2 separate regions of the Homo sapiens genome follow, and region 2 is linked to region 1. The links are contacts of gene promoters, found by promoter capture Hi-C in blood cells and fetal thymus (Javierre and others, 2016). All regions are on one chromosome and are shown on one strand. The core of a region is centred on a gene start or on the middle of the fragment in contact, and the rest is flanking DNA. Distances in the headings are between cores, read along the strand shown.

Region 1 (7,756 bases), core at 1,177-3,676:
CCTTCCTAATTTCCACCTAATATCATACATTCCTCAGTAAATTTTGACTCATCCGAATGCTGCAAATTCTGCCCCAAACCTTCTTCCACCATCTTTCACAACAGAAGCTCTTCTGCCACATCACGAAAACAGAGACCAAAGAAGACCCTTATCTTGCCTTTCCTGCAGCTCTAAACTGGTTACATTCCCACCCATTCCTTGCTCCTTCCTACCTCCATGCAATCCTCCACTCCAGCAGCCAGATGGTCATCCTTTCCACTCCATGAAGTTACTTTCTCAAGGGCCCATCCAGGGGCTTCCTCCAGCCTCTCAGGAGCTGTTCTATTCTCCTTTCCATTATCCTCTACCCTGGTGCCCTTCCCTCCATCCACATTTTAAAGTCTGAGGTTTTCCAGGACCTTGTCCTCTCTTTATCTTCAGCGTCTTGTCCCTAAACAGTCTCGTCTACTTCCAAGCCTTTAGCTGTTAACTTTGTGATGGCCCTGTGCGATGGCTCATTCCTATAATCCCAGCACTTCGTGAGGCTGAGGCAAGAGGATCACTTAAGCTCAGGAGTCCGAGACCAGCCTGGGCAACATGGTGAAACCCCATCTCTACCAAAAATACAAAAAAATTAGTCAGGCATGGTGGCATGTGCCTGTATTCCCAGCTTCTTGGGGGCCTGAGGCAGGAGGATCGCTTGAGCCCAGGAGGGCAAGGCTGCAGTGAGCTGTGTTGGCACCACTGCACTCCAGCCTGGGCAAAAGAGCAAGACTCCACCTCAAAAACAAAACAAACAAACAAACAAAACCACTTTGTGTTATGTATCTGCCTTTGAGCTTTCTAAGCCTCAGGGACTGATTTCCAGCTGCCAGTCAGACATCCACAAGATGACATCTTGTAGAAATCTCAGTCTCAAAGCCGGGGGTGTCTCCTATTCTTCAAGACCAGTTGTTTCCCCCTGGGTTATTTGCCTTAGCTGGTGTTCTCACCAATTCCATTTGACAGCTGAATACTATCATTATCTCTCCCTTTTCTGTCCCCACAAACTTGATTCCTAAGCTCTGTCCTTTCTAAATCAGCCATGTTTCTTGGATTCATCATCTCCTTCCCATCCCCTTCCAAACTCTTGGGATCAGTAGGAGTATTACAACCCCCTCCTCACTCTTCCCCTGTCCTGCAGGCTTGCCCTACTCTGGTTCACTTTCCACACAGCAGCCAGAGTGTTGCTTTGTAAGATAGACCTGGTCGGCCGGGCGCCATGGCTCATGCCTGTAATCCCAGCACTTTGGGAGGCCGAAGTGGGCAGATGACTTGAGGTCAGGAGTTCCAGACCAGCCTGGAAAACATAGTGAAACCCTGTCTCTACTAAAAATACAAAAATTAGCCAGGCATGGTGGTGCACGCCTGTAGTCCCAGCTACTCAGGAGGCTGAGGCAGGAGAATCACTTGAACCCAGGAGACAGAGGTTGCAGTGAGCTGAGATCACGCCACTGCACACCAACCTGGGTGACAGAGTGAGACTCCGTATCAAAAAAAAAAAGAGATAGACCTGGTCTAGATCCTCTCCTCTTTCATTGGCTACCCTCTACTGACTTGGTCAAGCTTCGTGTCAAAGCCCTTCACCACATGATCAACTGCTTCCCTACCCCCTGCCCATCAGCCCTTGCCTCTCCTGTTCCGCAAACACACATGTCCTTTTATACAATGACCAGTGCTTGTACTCAGCCACATTTGGCCACCTATCTGGATTCCTCTATTACTTCTTTCTCAATCCTTTTCCAGGTACTACTCCAAAAGAAAAGTTATTTATTTCCCACAGAAGTCATTACAGAAGGGCAATTTTCTGGTGGCTCTGTTAAGTGTATAAATCCTCTTGCACAACAAAGCTGCTTACGTGGGCAGTAAATATGCAGTTAATGAGGCCTCAAGTGGGAGGCACAATTTATGGAGGCACAATCAGAGTAGGGAGCAGCAGTCCTGGTGCCACCTCTTCACTTCCAGAGCAGCTTTCCTTCCAGGTTCCCAATGTCAGCATCCCCAACACCTGCACACCCTGACACAGACAGTCAGGAATGACTTGAGTAGTCAAAGGGCATGACAGAGAGCAGCATGTAGAAAGCAGTTGGCAATTTTTCAAATATACCAGTAAGGGTTGTTTGTGTTCACAATACTCTGGCTTTGCAGGACTATTCTGATGCTAAAAAGAGTCTAGAAAGTTTAGGTGAACATGGTTCCTAAAGGAGGGGCTGGTTGGGGTGGGAGTGTAAGGAGAGAAGTGCCTTACTTGAGTTTCTATTAAAGGGATGCTTCAGGATGCTCCAGGCTGAGGTCTGTGAGCCCAATGTGGCCCTGACACGAAGGTTGTATGGCACAGTGGCCGTGATGTCATCAGTGACATCACACTCAGGACCTTCAGTGAGTGAGCACCAGCTGCTGGGGATCCAGATGTGGCTCGTGTACAGGCTCTCGTACTCCCTGTCAAAGAGAGGAGGGCACAGAGTTACACCAGCCCCTCTGACACAGGCTCAGTTATGGTTGCAAGTAACTGACTTCGTTCACCTACTTTGTACAGGTAAGTAAAATAAGTACTTTCTCATTATCCTAGCTCCTCCACTCTCCTCCCTACCAACCATCCATCGTCCCTTACTCCTTTTATTGCCAGATAGGGAAAGCTAGGCATAAACATCAATGTGTCTGGATCTCTTTTATCTCTTCATCTCCAGGGTCATCACCCTAATCTCAGCCACTGTCATTCCTTGCCTTGCTGTGATCTCCCAGCTTGGACACCTGCCATTCTCAAAACCATTCACCACTCAGCAGATTGTGACGTTTCTCTCCTTAATGGCTTCCTACAGGACTTAGAATGGGATCCAAACTCTTGCCAGTGGTCTTACAAGATGCTTTGGCCTTCTCTCTCACTCTGCTCCGAAGCGTGATATTCTTGCCACATTGGTCATTTCTCCAAAATGCTGAGCACTTTTTGCCTTAGGACCTTTGACTAACTGTTCACTCCATCTCAAACGCTCTGCCCCTGCTGTTCGCATGGCTGGCTCCTCTTGTCCTTCAGATATGGCATAAATATCACCTCCTCAGAGAGGCCATCCCAGGCCATCTAATATAAAGGAGCCTCAGTGTCAACTCTCTATGGCATCAGCCTTTTAGCTTCCTCCTAGCACTGATTACTATCCAAAATTCCCTAGAGCAGTGCTTTCCAAAAATAAACTTTCTGTGATGATGCAAATATTCTAAATCGATGTTGTTCAATATGGTAACCACTGGCCACATGTGGCTATTGAACACCTAAAATGTGACTAGTGTGGCAGGAAACAGACATTTTAATTTAATTTAATTTAATTTAATTTAATTTAAATTTAAATAGCCAGCTGTGGCTGGTGGCTACCATACTAGAGAATGCTGGCCTAGTATATTTATCATCTGTATCCTCCTCTAGATGTAAGCTCTCAAAATCCAGAAACCTTGTCAACTGTATCCCTGAGCCTAGAAGAATGTCTACACATGTAGGTGTTCAGTCTGTATTCATTGTTAATGAAATATATGGAGCAATTTCTGTGTCCTTATCACTATTCAATAGCTGCAAGCACCTGAACACCTGGAGAAGACTAGAGCCTGCTCAGCCCCAGGGCCAGCTGACCTTTAGGATTATAGTTCGTTTTGGCTCTAGGTATAAGCTTATAGTCAGGAAAAGTGAGGACTCCTCCACCCTTAAAGGATCTGAGTCTCCAGTGATTTATCCATCTCAAGTCAGAGTCAAACCCATTGGACAGTTGATTCACTTTTTAAAATAACTCCACCAAAATGTGTTATGCACATTCATCTTCCCAGAGAGTTCACTGTCAAATCCACAGAACAATTTCCCTTGCTTCTTCAACTCTTTCAATGCCTATGCAGACAGAGGGGGTAGATCTTTGGGGATAATCTATCCCTGGACTCAAAAAGCCACCTTGGGCTCAGGAGGAAGGGCTATGCCTTCAGGAACCAACTTCTGCTTAAGGGAGAAGAACTATTAAAAGAAAAAACTCACCCCTGGTATTCGACAGAATAGTACACTGTTTCTCCAGGCGCGATCACTGGGCTCCACATCAAGAGATGCTTCATGTTGGTTGAGAGTACAGAGAGGTTCTGAGGGGCAGGCAGAATGGCCACTTCATCTAGGATCAAGGCAGATAGCCTGGCTGACAGGTGGGCTCATAGTGGGGGAATGCCATAGCTTCAAATTAGTGTCTAATGAAGGGCCTCACTGGCGGAGGTTGCAGTAAGCTGAGATTGCACCACTGCACTCCAGCCTAGACAACAGAATGAGACTCTGTCTCAAAAAAAAAAAAGCCTCACATGTTTATAAACCAGAAACAACTCTAATTTTATCATGCTTATGTTAACACTAAATTTTGGGTACCACCATTATAATTCTGACTTTGTTGATAAATGACATATCAATATTAATAATAATAATGACTAATATTTATCTAATACTTACCATGTTCTATCTAGACCATGTGCTGGATTGTTACATGACTGTCTTATTGAATTCTCATGACCATACTGGGAGGTAAAGACCATTAGTTTTTCCATTGTACAAATGAGAAAACTGAGTCACATTATTTATGACTCTTCTGTTAGACTGGCTAGGATCCAGTGACTCTGCCACTTACTATGTGGCTTTAAGCAAGTTGCATAAACGTGAGCCTCTTAATCATTCATGGAAAACCAATGCAGACTACTGCAACATTCTCATCACCTCCCTCTCCTGCTACTGCCATCCTCAGATGCCAAAGCAATCGTTTCATGTCCCTCAACAAGGCCAAATGGGTCATCAGTTGCCAGGTGGGAAGTACAGGCTCAGATCTGCTGTGGAGAGAGTCCATTCAAGTGGGACACCAAGCCAGCTCTGTGAGTCCACCCCGGAAAGACTGCAGGCCCCTGAGCCAGTCTGGGACACAAGTATGCCCCGAGTGTACCCAGACACAGTGTGCCCAGAGTATGCACACAGTGGGACTATGATTTGTAGAGAATGAAAGAGGCCTATGAAGCTGAACCTGCTCATAAGGACTTTGGGCAGTCACAAAGCCAAAAACTTCATCCTCACATGTCACCCAAAGGTACAGTCTGAACTCTCTGCTATGTTCCTGTTTAAATGCCCAACACCTGCCTCCCTTTGCTGTTACAGTGCAGTGATAGCATCTACAGCATAGTGGGGGTGGGGCTGGAGTCCTCATTTGGGACTTTTCATCTCTGTGCCTATCTCCAGATTGGCACCTGCTGTTTGTTATCAAGCCCTGTGACCACAAAGGGATGGAAGGCTGCTGGGGACACCCCACCTGGTTTCCCTGCCCTTTCTCTAATGTAGGGCCCTAGTGATGCACCTCCATCTCACCCTCAGCATCCATGGTCTGTTCTGTGGGGAAACACCTGGAGCACCCACAAGGCAGTCTTCCTGACCCCCACCCACCCCTAAGCTTGAAATCACCCAAGGGATGGAAAGGAAAAGGGGTAGAGTGGTACAGGAGGACAAGGAATGGTCCCCTCTGACACCTTCCTCTGGTAAAGTTTTAAAAAAATTCTCTAGCCAGCTATTTGGGGAATATAAACCTATATAAATACAAAGCTACATTTTATATAACTAATTTAATTACATAATTAAATTATGTCAACAAATCAATTTATTAATTAATGTAATTTAATTATATAACTTTAAAGCTCTCAAAAATGAAATCTCCAGGCACAGATGGTTTTAATGGAAAATTCTACCAAACATTTAAAGATGACAACATCAACAAAATGCAATTTCCTCTAAAACATAGAATAGGAAAGAACAGTTTCCAGCTTACTTTATGAGGCCAGTATTACCATGATACCAAAATCAGATGAGGAAAATATATACATAAACTACATAAAAATATATCTCATGAACTTAGACAAAAATCTTCAACAAAATATAGCAATCCAAATTCAGTAATGTACAAAAAGAACTATATACCATAACCAAGTGGGATTTGTTCTAGGTATGCAGGGCTGGTTCAACATTTGAAAATCAGTTAATGTAATTTACCATGTCGATAAACTAAAGAATAAAATCATAAATCATATCAATTGACACAGAAAAAGGATTTACAAAACCCACATCCATTCATTATGAAAAACAAGACAAAACAGGCCAGGTGCGGTGGCTCACACCATAATCCCAGCACTTTGGGAGGCCGAGGCAGGCGGATCAGCTGAGGTCAGGAGTTCGAGACCAGCCTGACCAACATGGTGAAACCCAGTCTCTACTAAAAATAGAAAAATTAGCTGGGTGTGGTGGCACTCACCTGTAATCCCAGCTACTTGGGAGGCTGAGGCAGGAGACTTGCTTGAACCTGGGAGACGGAGGTTGCAGTGAGCCAAGATCAAGCCATTGCACTCTAGCCTGGGTGACAGAGCAAGACTCCATCTCAAAAAAAAAAAAAAAAACAAGACAGAACCAAAAACTCTCTTCAAGTTAAGAGCAGGCAGGGAGTTACCACAACTTGATAAAGACCATCTACAAAAAACCTACAGCTAACATCTTACTTAATGGTGAAGGACTGAATGCTTCCTCTCCAAGATCAGGAATAGGCAAGAATGTCCACTCTTACCACTCTTATTCAACATACTACTGAAAGTTCTAGCCACTGTAATAAGGCAAGCAAAATAAGTAAAAGAAATATAGATTATAAAAGAAGTAGTAAAACTTGCCCTATATGCAAATGACATGATATGCTCTCCCACATGTAGAAAAGTCCCACAGAATCTTAAAAAAAAATCTAAAACCAGGCCAGGCCTGGTGGCTCACGCCTGTAAACCCAGCACTCTGGGAGACCAAGGCAGGCAGATCGCCTGAGCTCAGGAGTTCGAGGCCAGCCTGGCCAACATGGCAAAACCCCATCTCTACTAAAAATAGAAAAATTAGCTGGGCGTGGTAGTGCGTGCCTGTAATCTTGGCTATTCAGGAGGCTGAGGCAGGAGAATCGCTTGAACCCAGGAGGTGGAGGTTGCAGTGAGTTGAGATTGCACCACCGCACTCCAGCCTGGGCAACAGAGCAAGACTCCATCTCAAAAAAAAATTATATTTCTATATACCAGCAACAAACACATACACAGAAATTAAAATTATAATCACTAAAAAAATAGGTGTAAATCTGACAAAATATACTCAGGGAAAACTCCACAATGCTAAATGAAATCAAAGAAGATTTAAATAAATGGAGAGACATACTGTGTTCATGCATTAGAAGATTCAACAGTTAAGATGCCAATTCTCCCCCAAATTGTATATAGGTTTAATGCAATTCCTATCAATAGTTCAGCAAGCTTTTTGTTAATATAGATAAGTTTTTCCTAAATTTTATAAGAAAAGTCAAAGGAACTATAATACATAAAAGGAGGGGGAGGGGCTTCAAGATGGCTGACCAGAAGCATTTCATGCTTACCTCCTCCACTTAGAAGAACCGAAATCATGTATATACAGTCACACTTTGAATACATTATCCAAAAGAAAACACTGGAACTCAACAGAAAAGTTACAGGAAACACCAAAAGCAAGGAAGGAGGAGGAGAGGCAGCCTGCTTGGCTAGGATCAGCTGGCAGCCAAGAGTGACTTCTCAATGTGGGCAGAGTAAGTGAGAGACTTCTGGTGGCCCTCATTCCCACCATGGAATCATGTAGTCCTGACCGTGAGAGAATTCCTCAACCCTCCTAAGCCCTGAAAACATACATAGGGAGCTGCCAGTAGATTGG
Region 2 (7,452 bases), core at 1,891-4,390, 490 kb after region 1:
TTAACTAGAGACAGGGTTTCACCGTGTTAGCCAGGGTGGTCTCGATCTCCTGACCTGGTGATCCGCCCGCCTCGGCCTCCCAAAGTGCTGGGGTTACAGGCATGAGCCATCGCGCCCAGCCGGAAGTTTCTTTTTATTCCTAGTTTTCTGAGAGTTTTTATTAGGAATATATCTTGGATTTTGTCAAATCTTTTTCTGCATCTATTGAGATCAGTGTGTTGTTTTATTTTTTAAAGACTTAATGTGGTGAATTTATGTTCAGATGTTAACATGAACGCATAAAGCCCACATTATCATGATATGTTTTTATCTATATATGGTTGTATGTGATTTGCTGAGTTTTTCCAAGAATTTCTGCATCTATGTTCAAGAGGGATAAATAGCTCTAACTTTATTTTAATGAATATCACTGTCTACCTTTGTTAGCAAGGTAATGCTGGCCTTGTAGATTGAGTTACAGTGTATTCTCTCTTCTTTAATTTTCTCGGTGAGTTTGATAGAACTGGTATTATTTCTTCTTCAGATAAGAGTTCTACCATTGGAGCCTAGAATTTTCTTTGCAGGAAGGTTTTTAAGTATGAATTTTCTCCAGTAGATATAGGGCTGTTGAGGTTATCTGTTGTTCCTGAGTAAACTTTGGTAGTTTATGTCTTATAAGAAATTGGTACATTCATCTTGGTGGTTGAGTTGTATTAAAAAACTATCAGCATAAAGTTGGTCATAATATTGGTAATTTAACATCTCTCTCTCTCTCCCTCTCTCTCTCCCACTCCTTTTCCCCCTGCTTCCTTCCCGCTTTTCTCTTTTCATTGTTCAGTGTATGTGGAGCTATTTTATCTTATTTTATATTGAATTTTTCTATTATTTTTGTTTTCTATTTCATTGATTTCTGTCCTTTATTTCCTTTCATCTGCTCACTTTGGGTTTCACTTCTTCAGCTCTTCTTAGTTTCTCAAGGTAGAATTTGAGGTCATTGATTTGACACTTTTTTTCTAATAAGGGAATTTACTCCTATAAATTTTTTAAAGCACTGCTTTAGCTATGTGTCCTAAATTTGGATATATTGCATTTTTTATTTAGTTCAAAATACTGTCTAGTTTCCTTTTTGATTTTTTTGTTTCACCCATGGATTATTTTGAAGCATGGCATTTAGTGTGCAGATATTTGAGGATTTTCTAGATACCTTTCTGTTATTGATTTCTAATTTAATTTCAATGTAGTCAAAGAACATAGTTTGTATGATTTGAATGCTTCTAAATTTATTGAGATTTGTATGAGACCCACAGTAAACTCTATCTTGGTGAATAGATACCTATAGATACCTATAGATCTCTATACCTCAAGAAAATAAGGTATATTCTGCTTTTGTTGGCTAGCGTCTTATACCAGTTAGGTCAAATTGGTTAATAGTGTTGTTCAAGTCTTCTCTCTCTTTACTGATTTTCGGTCTGTTTATTCTAACAATTATTAAGAAGGGTTTATAGGAGTACTTTCTGTGTTTTTTGGGGGTTTTTTTGTTTGTTTGTTTGTTTTTTGAGACGGAGTCTCCCTCTTGTTGCCCAGGCTGGAGTGCAGTGGTACAATCTCAGCTCACTGCAACCTCTGCCTCCCAGATCCAAGTGGTTCTCCTGCCTCAGCCTCCCAAGTAGCTGGGATTACAGGCATGCACCACCACGCCCAGCTAATTTTTTTTTTTTTTTTTTTTTTTTGAGACGGAGTCTTGCTCTGTCACCCAGGCTGGAGTGCAGTGGTGCACGGTCTCTGCTCTCTGCAAGCTCCGCCTCCCAGGTTCACGCCATTCTCCTGCCTCAGCCTCCCGAGTAGCTGGGACTACAGGCGCCTGCCACCATGCCTGGCTAATTTTTTTGTATTTTTAGTAGAGATGGGGTTTCACCGTGTTATCCAGGATGGTCTTGATCTCTTGACCTCACGAGCCACCTGCCTCAGCCTCCCAACATGCTGGAATTATAGGTATGAGCCACCGTGCCCGGCCCTAATTTTGTATTTTTAATAGAGGCGGAGTTTCACCATGTTGGTCAGGCTGGTCTCGAACTCTTGACCTCAAGTGATCCACCCACCTTGGCCTCCCAAAGTGCTGGGATTACAGACATGAGCCACCGTGCCATCCATGCCACCACACCTGGCTGATATTCTTGATATAAGTTCGTGAACAGATGTATAGCTTTTTTTCATTTTCTTGATGGTGACCTTTACAGAGCAAATGTTTTCAATTTGTATGGCCCAGTTTATGAGTTTTTCTTCTGTGGTCATGCTTTTGGTATCTGTGAACATTGCCTAACCCCTAAGATTTCTTCTGTGTTTTATTTTCGAAGTTTAATCATTTTGTCTCTTCTATTAAGGCATATGAACCTTTAAAATTGAATTTTTAATTCAATTTTTGTAGATGACGTGATATAAGGGCAGAAGTCTACTTTTTGCATACAAATTTTCAGTTTTCCCAGCACCATTTAATGACAAAGTATCTTTCCCCAATTGAATTACCATGCCATCTCTCTTGAAGATGAATTGACCATAAACACAAGGTTTTATTTTTGGATTTTCTGTCTATCCTTACACTGATACCACCTGCATTGAGTATGCTTTAGATGAGCTTTTAAAATTAGGTAGTGTAAGTTGTCTTACTTTATTCTTCGTTTTCAAAAATTTTTTGACTGGTACAGATTCTTTGCATTTCTGTATAAATCTTAGGGTCAGCTTGTCAATTTTTGAACAAAAGCTTCTGAAATTATCATAGGGATTGTAATTACCTTGTGAACCAATTTGGAGAGAATTAACCTCTTAACAATATAGAATTTATTCCTTATCTTAATGGGGAAACAATTAGACTTTGAAATTAGGCACGATGTTATTAACTAAGTTTTGTGTAGATACCCTTTAGTAGGATGAGGAATTTACTTCTAGCCTGATTTGTTGGGTGTTTTTATCATGATGGATTGATGTATTTCTTTATTTTTTCTGTTTTGAATGAGGTGGTCATGCAGGTTTTTTCTTTTATTATATTAATATAGTGTATTGTGTTCATTGATTTTCAGATATTATACCAACCTTGCATTCTGGGAGAAATTCCACATGGTTATGGTATACAATCCTTTTTATATGCTACTGGATTCAGTTTGCTAGTATTTTGTTAAGGATTTGTGCATTTACTTTCATAAGGAATAACAGTGTCAATACTAGCCTTATAGAATACACTGGGAACTATTCTTCCTGCTCTGTTTTCTGAAAGAATTTATGAAGGATTGGTAATATTTCTATGTTTGGTAGATTTCAGCAGAGAAGCCCTTTAATACCAGGCTTTTCTTTGTGTAAAGGTTTTTAATTACTGATTCAATTTATATATCCTGAATTTTTTTAAGTTTTGTTTTGTTTTTTATTAATTTATTTTCTTGAGACAGGGTCTCTGTCTGTCACCCTGCCTGGAGTGCAGTGGCACAATCACAACTCCGTAGAACCTCAATGTCCTGGGCTCAAGCAGTCCTCCTGCCTCAGCTCCCAAGTAGCTAGGACTGCAGGCAAGCTTCACGACACCTGGCCAATTTTTTATTTTTTCTAGAAACTAGGGCTTCTCCCTGTTTTGCCCAGAATGGTTAGAACTCTTGACCTCAAGCAGTCCTTCTGCTTCGGCCTCCCAAAGTACTAGGATTATAGGTGTGAGCCACTGCGCCCTGCACACCGCCAGATTTTTTGTTGTTTTTGAGTCAGATTTGGTAATTTGTATTTCTCAGGCAATATGTCTATTTCATGCAAATTGTAAATTTAATGGCATAATGTTATTCATAATATTTTGTAGTTGTTTTAATTTTTGGGGGGTTGTCAGCCCCCTTATTTATTCTTGTGTGATTTGTGTCTTCTCTTTTGTCTTTCTCAGTTTCACTGTAAGTTTGTTTTGTTGATCTTTTCAAATAATAATGGACTTGTAATTTTGTTGGCTTTCTCTGTTTTTTATTTCCTTGATTTATGTTTCCATATTTATTATTTGTGTTGTTTTTTTTTTTTTTTTTTCGGAGACAGGATCTCGCTCTGTTGTCCAAGCTGGAGTGCAGTGTCATGATCATTGCTCACTGCAGCCTTGACTTCACGGGCTCAAGCAGTACTCCCGCCTCAGCCCCCTGAGTAGTTGGGACTACAAGCACACATCACTATGCCTGGCTAATTTTTGTTATTTTTGTAGAGTCAGGGTTTGGCCATGTTGTCCAGGCTCGTGTTGAACTCCTGGACTCAAGTGATCCACCTGCCTTAGCCTCCCAAAGTGATGGGATTACAGGTGTGAGCCATCCTTTGCTGATCTTTTTGTTTTGGTTTGGTTTGGTTTTTTTGAGACAGGGTTTTACTCTGTCACCCAGGTGGGAGTGCAGTTGCACAATCACAGCTCACTTCAGCCTCAACATCCTGGGCTCAGGTGATCTTCCCACCTCAGCCTCCTGAGTAGCTGGGACTACAGGCACACACTACCATACCTGGTTAATTTTTTGTATTTTCAGTAGAGACGAAGTTTCGCCATGTTGCCCAGGCTGGTCTCAAATTCCTGGGCTCAAGCCATTTACCACCCTCAGCCTCCCAAAGTGCTGTGATTAGGTGTGAACTATCATGCCTGGCCTAATTGTTTCTTAAGTTGAAAACTAAAATTATTCATTTTATATCCTTCCTCCTTTCTCAACTCCCCTTATAAGCTCTAAATTTTCCACAAAGCACTGCTCTAGCCCAGCTTCATTTTCTTGTCCTTCCTTTGTGCTATTATTGTCATATATATTTTGTCTACATTAGTTACTAACCCACCTGTACAGCATTATTTTCAGAGTGTTCAGTCATCTCTTAACAAAATTAAGAGGAGAAAATACAAATACACTTACTGTCTTCTAATTTACTTTCTTGTTAACATTTTTGACATTCTTCATTTTTTCCCGTGGAATTTAGTTATTGTATCGTGTTATTCCCTTGCAGTTTGAAGGACTTCATTTTGTGTCCCTTGTAAGGTAAATTTTACCCTGCTTAAACTGTTAAATGGCATGTAAATATCTGGGGGCAGTCTTAGGGCTCATCTTGTGTTATCCCCTCTCAGAGATTACCATTCTGCTCTGACTGATAATCCAACATCTAAAAATCATTTTGTGCAATTTGGTTTTTGTTTTCATTTACTTTTTTCAAGTGAGAGCATAAATTCTGTCCATCTTGGCTCCGTCATGCAGTCTTGAATTCAGAATCCATATTTTTATGATTTTCTGTCAGTCTGTAACACCAGTATTTATTTTAATGACTCACCTTTCTTGAGTCTTGACAAAGCTTTCAACCTATTATCCTTGTAGAAACAACAGTTATTTAATTTCTTACTGTTACAATGTTGATTTACATTTTATTTAATCAGACCTTGCATAAACTAGTATTGGATCTGTCATAGCCTGACTGAACTATTCAAAACTAGAATACAAGTGTAGTTGAGAATGTGACCTACTTGGCAAAAGTGATCAGCATGCCATGGATACTAATCATTAATTTCCATAAGTATCACTCAGTCTACATTATTGATTAATAGGAGATATTACTGCACGTACTGGAAGTAGTAGGTACTATGCAGAGATATCACTTTTTAAGTTACCACTTTGTGTCCCACTTACCACCATCCACTTCAAACAAATTTGATTTTTTTGTTTTTTTGTTTTGTTTTGTTTTTGAGACAATCTTGCTCTGTCTCCCAGGCTGGAGTGCAGCAGCGTGATCTTGGGCTGATTCCAGCCCCCGCCTCCTGGGTTCAGGTGATTCTCCTGCCTCAGCCTCCTGAGTAGCTGGGAATACAGGTGTGCACCACCATCCTCAGCTAATTTTGTATTTTTAATAGAGACAGGGTTTCACCATGTTGGCCTGGCTGGTCTTGAACTCCTGACCTCAGGTGATCTTCCTGCCTCGGGCTCCCAACGTGCTGGGATTACAAGTGTGAGCCACTGCACCCGGCCAACAAATTGGATTTTAATCTGTATGCTGCTAGATCTAAGTAATCATTTACAGTAAGTATGGAGACCAGAAGAATGTGTTTTCTAACTGAATCCTTGTGGTATTGCTTAAGTCTAGAATTTGGGAAACTGTACTTCAGACCAAATGATCAGTTTCTTCCACAAATAAATGGCAAATAATAAGAACCAGGGGATGTAAAAACACAAAATACTGAATGTGAAAAACACTCACAAATTCATATTTAATGAACAGGATATACTTTAGAATGTTGAGGAGACAATTAGTGAATTGGAATGTAATACTGAGGAGTTTACCCAGATCACAGTAATAAAGGGATAAAAAGATATGGACGGACCTTTCTGATATGGGAAGGGTAGTGTCAGATACTTCACCAGTCCTTTAAAAAGAAGTTTCAGGAAAAGAGAGAAGCCCTTGGTCATGGTAGTGTGCACCTGTAGTCCCAGCTACACAGGAGGATGAGATGGTAAGACTGCTTGAGCCCAGGAGTTCCAGGGTGCAGTGAACTATGATCAAGCCACTGCACTCCAGCCTGAACGACAGAGCAAGACCCCGTGTCTAAAAAAATAGATACATAGAAAGAAATGTATTAGAGAGAAGTAGTAGTAGTGAGTACAATTTTATAAAATTAGTTAAACAGAAACTTCAGATTAAAAAAACTTAATGAGTGCTGAGTAGGTTAGGGAATATATTCTACATCTAGACATACCGTAGTGAAAATGAAAAACATCAAAGATGAAGACAGTTATAAAAGCAACCAGAAAGATTGTTATTTCAGTAATGGTAAAAGAATAACAACAACAACAAAAAAGAATAACAAAGTTGTTAGGCCATAAGGACAAACTTACTCAGAGGACAGATTTAAGTACTTTTGAGAAGATGAAAAACAGATGTCTTTAAGACTAGTTGAGTCTTTTCATCCTTTTATGTTACAATGAAACATTTCAGAATCATATTTTCAGAGCTATTCTTATACAATACCATAATAGATTTATTCTGAACAAACTATTATTCCATTATTTTAATCTTCTTCTTAATATTTCATCTTTGATCTAATGTGGGGGTCAGGTTGCTAGTTAAAATGTAAATATTAATTAGAGGATATTTTTCTTTGAAAGCTAATGTATCTTTGACATTTGATTTTTAATCTTATTAAAGCCTAAAATTCTGTTAATAGTAAAATATTAAGGCGTAATGCAGGGTAACAGATAGCCATACACCTTCTCTGTATGAGACTCTTAGTGATGCAGTGCCTTTCTGTGTATTTTGCCACTGTTTTTACTTATTAATAATTAGCAACAAAAATGAGATGAAAAATAGTTTTATAAACTTGCCACATTTTCAATACATCTAAAATAACTCTTAGCAGTCGGGTGCGGTAGCTCACACCTGTAATCCCAGCACTTTGGGAGGATCACTTGAGGTCAGGAGTTCGAGACCAGCCTAGCCAACATGGCGAAACCCTGT

Evidence for each region. The method cuts DNA at HindIII sites, captures the fragments that hold promoters and counts their contacts. A CHiCAGO score of 5 or more calls a contact.
Region 2: a contact is called between a fragment that was not itself captured here and the fragment with the promoter of IL20RB-AS1 in region 1, in 5 of 17 cell types (total CD8 T cells, naive CD8 T cells, activated CD4 T cells and 2 more). The highest score is 6.8, in total CD8 T cells.

The regions. Positions count from the first base shown.
Region 1 is chr3:136,976,861-136,984,616 of GRCh38, reverse strand. It overlaps IL20RB-AS1 (IL20RB antisense RNA 1), which reads left to right and starts at 2,426. Exons shown (of 4, transcript NR_183729.1): 1 at 2,426-2,554; 2 at 4,767-5,099. It overlaps IL20RB (interleukin 20 receptor subunit beta), which reads right to left. Exons shown (of 7, transcript NM_144717.4): 2 at 4,025-4,151; 3 at 2,267-2,457. The HindIII fragment of the contact is 2,087 bases long and covers 1,587-3,673 here.
Region 2 is chr3:136,490,228-136,497,679 of GRCh38, reverse strand. The region is part of intron 9 of STAG1 (STAG1 cohesin complex component); the gene reads left to right. Among named protein-coding and RNA genes, the nearest start is that of PCCB, 240 kb to the right of the region's middle. The HindIII fragment of the contact is 801 bases long and covers 2,740-3,540 here.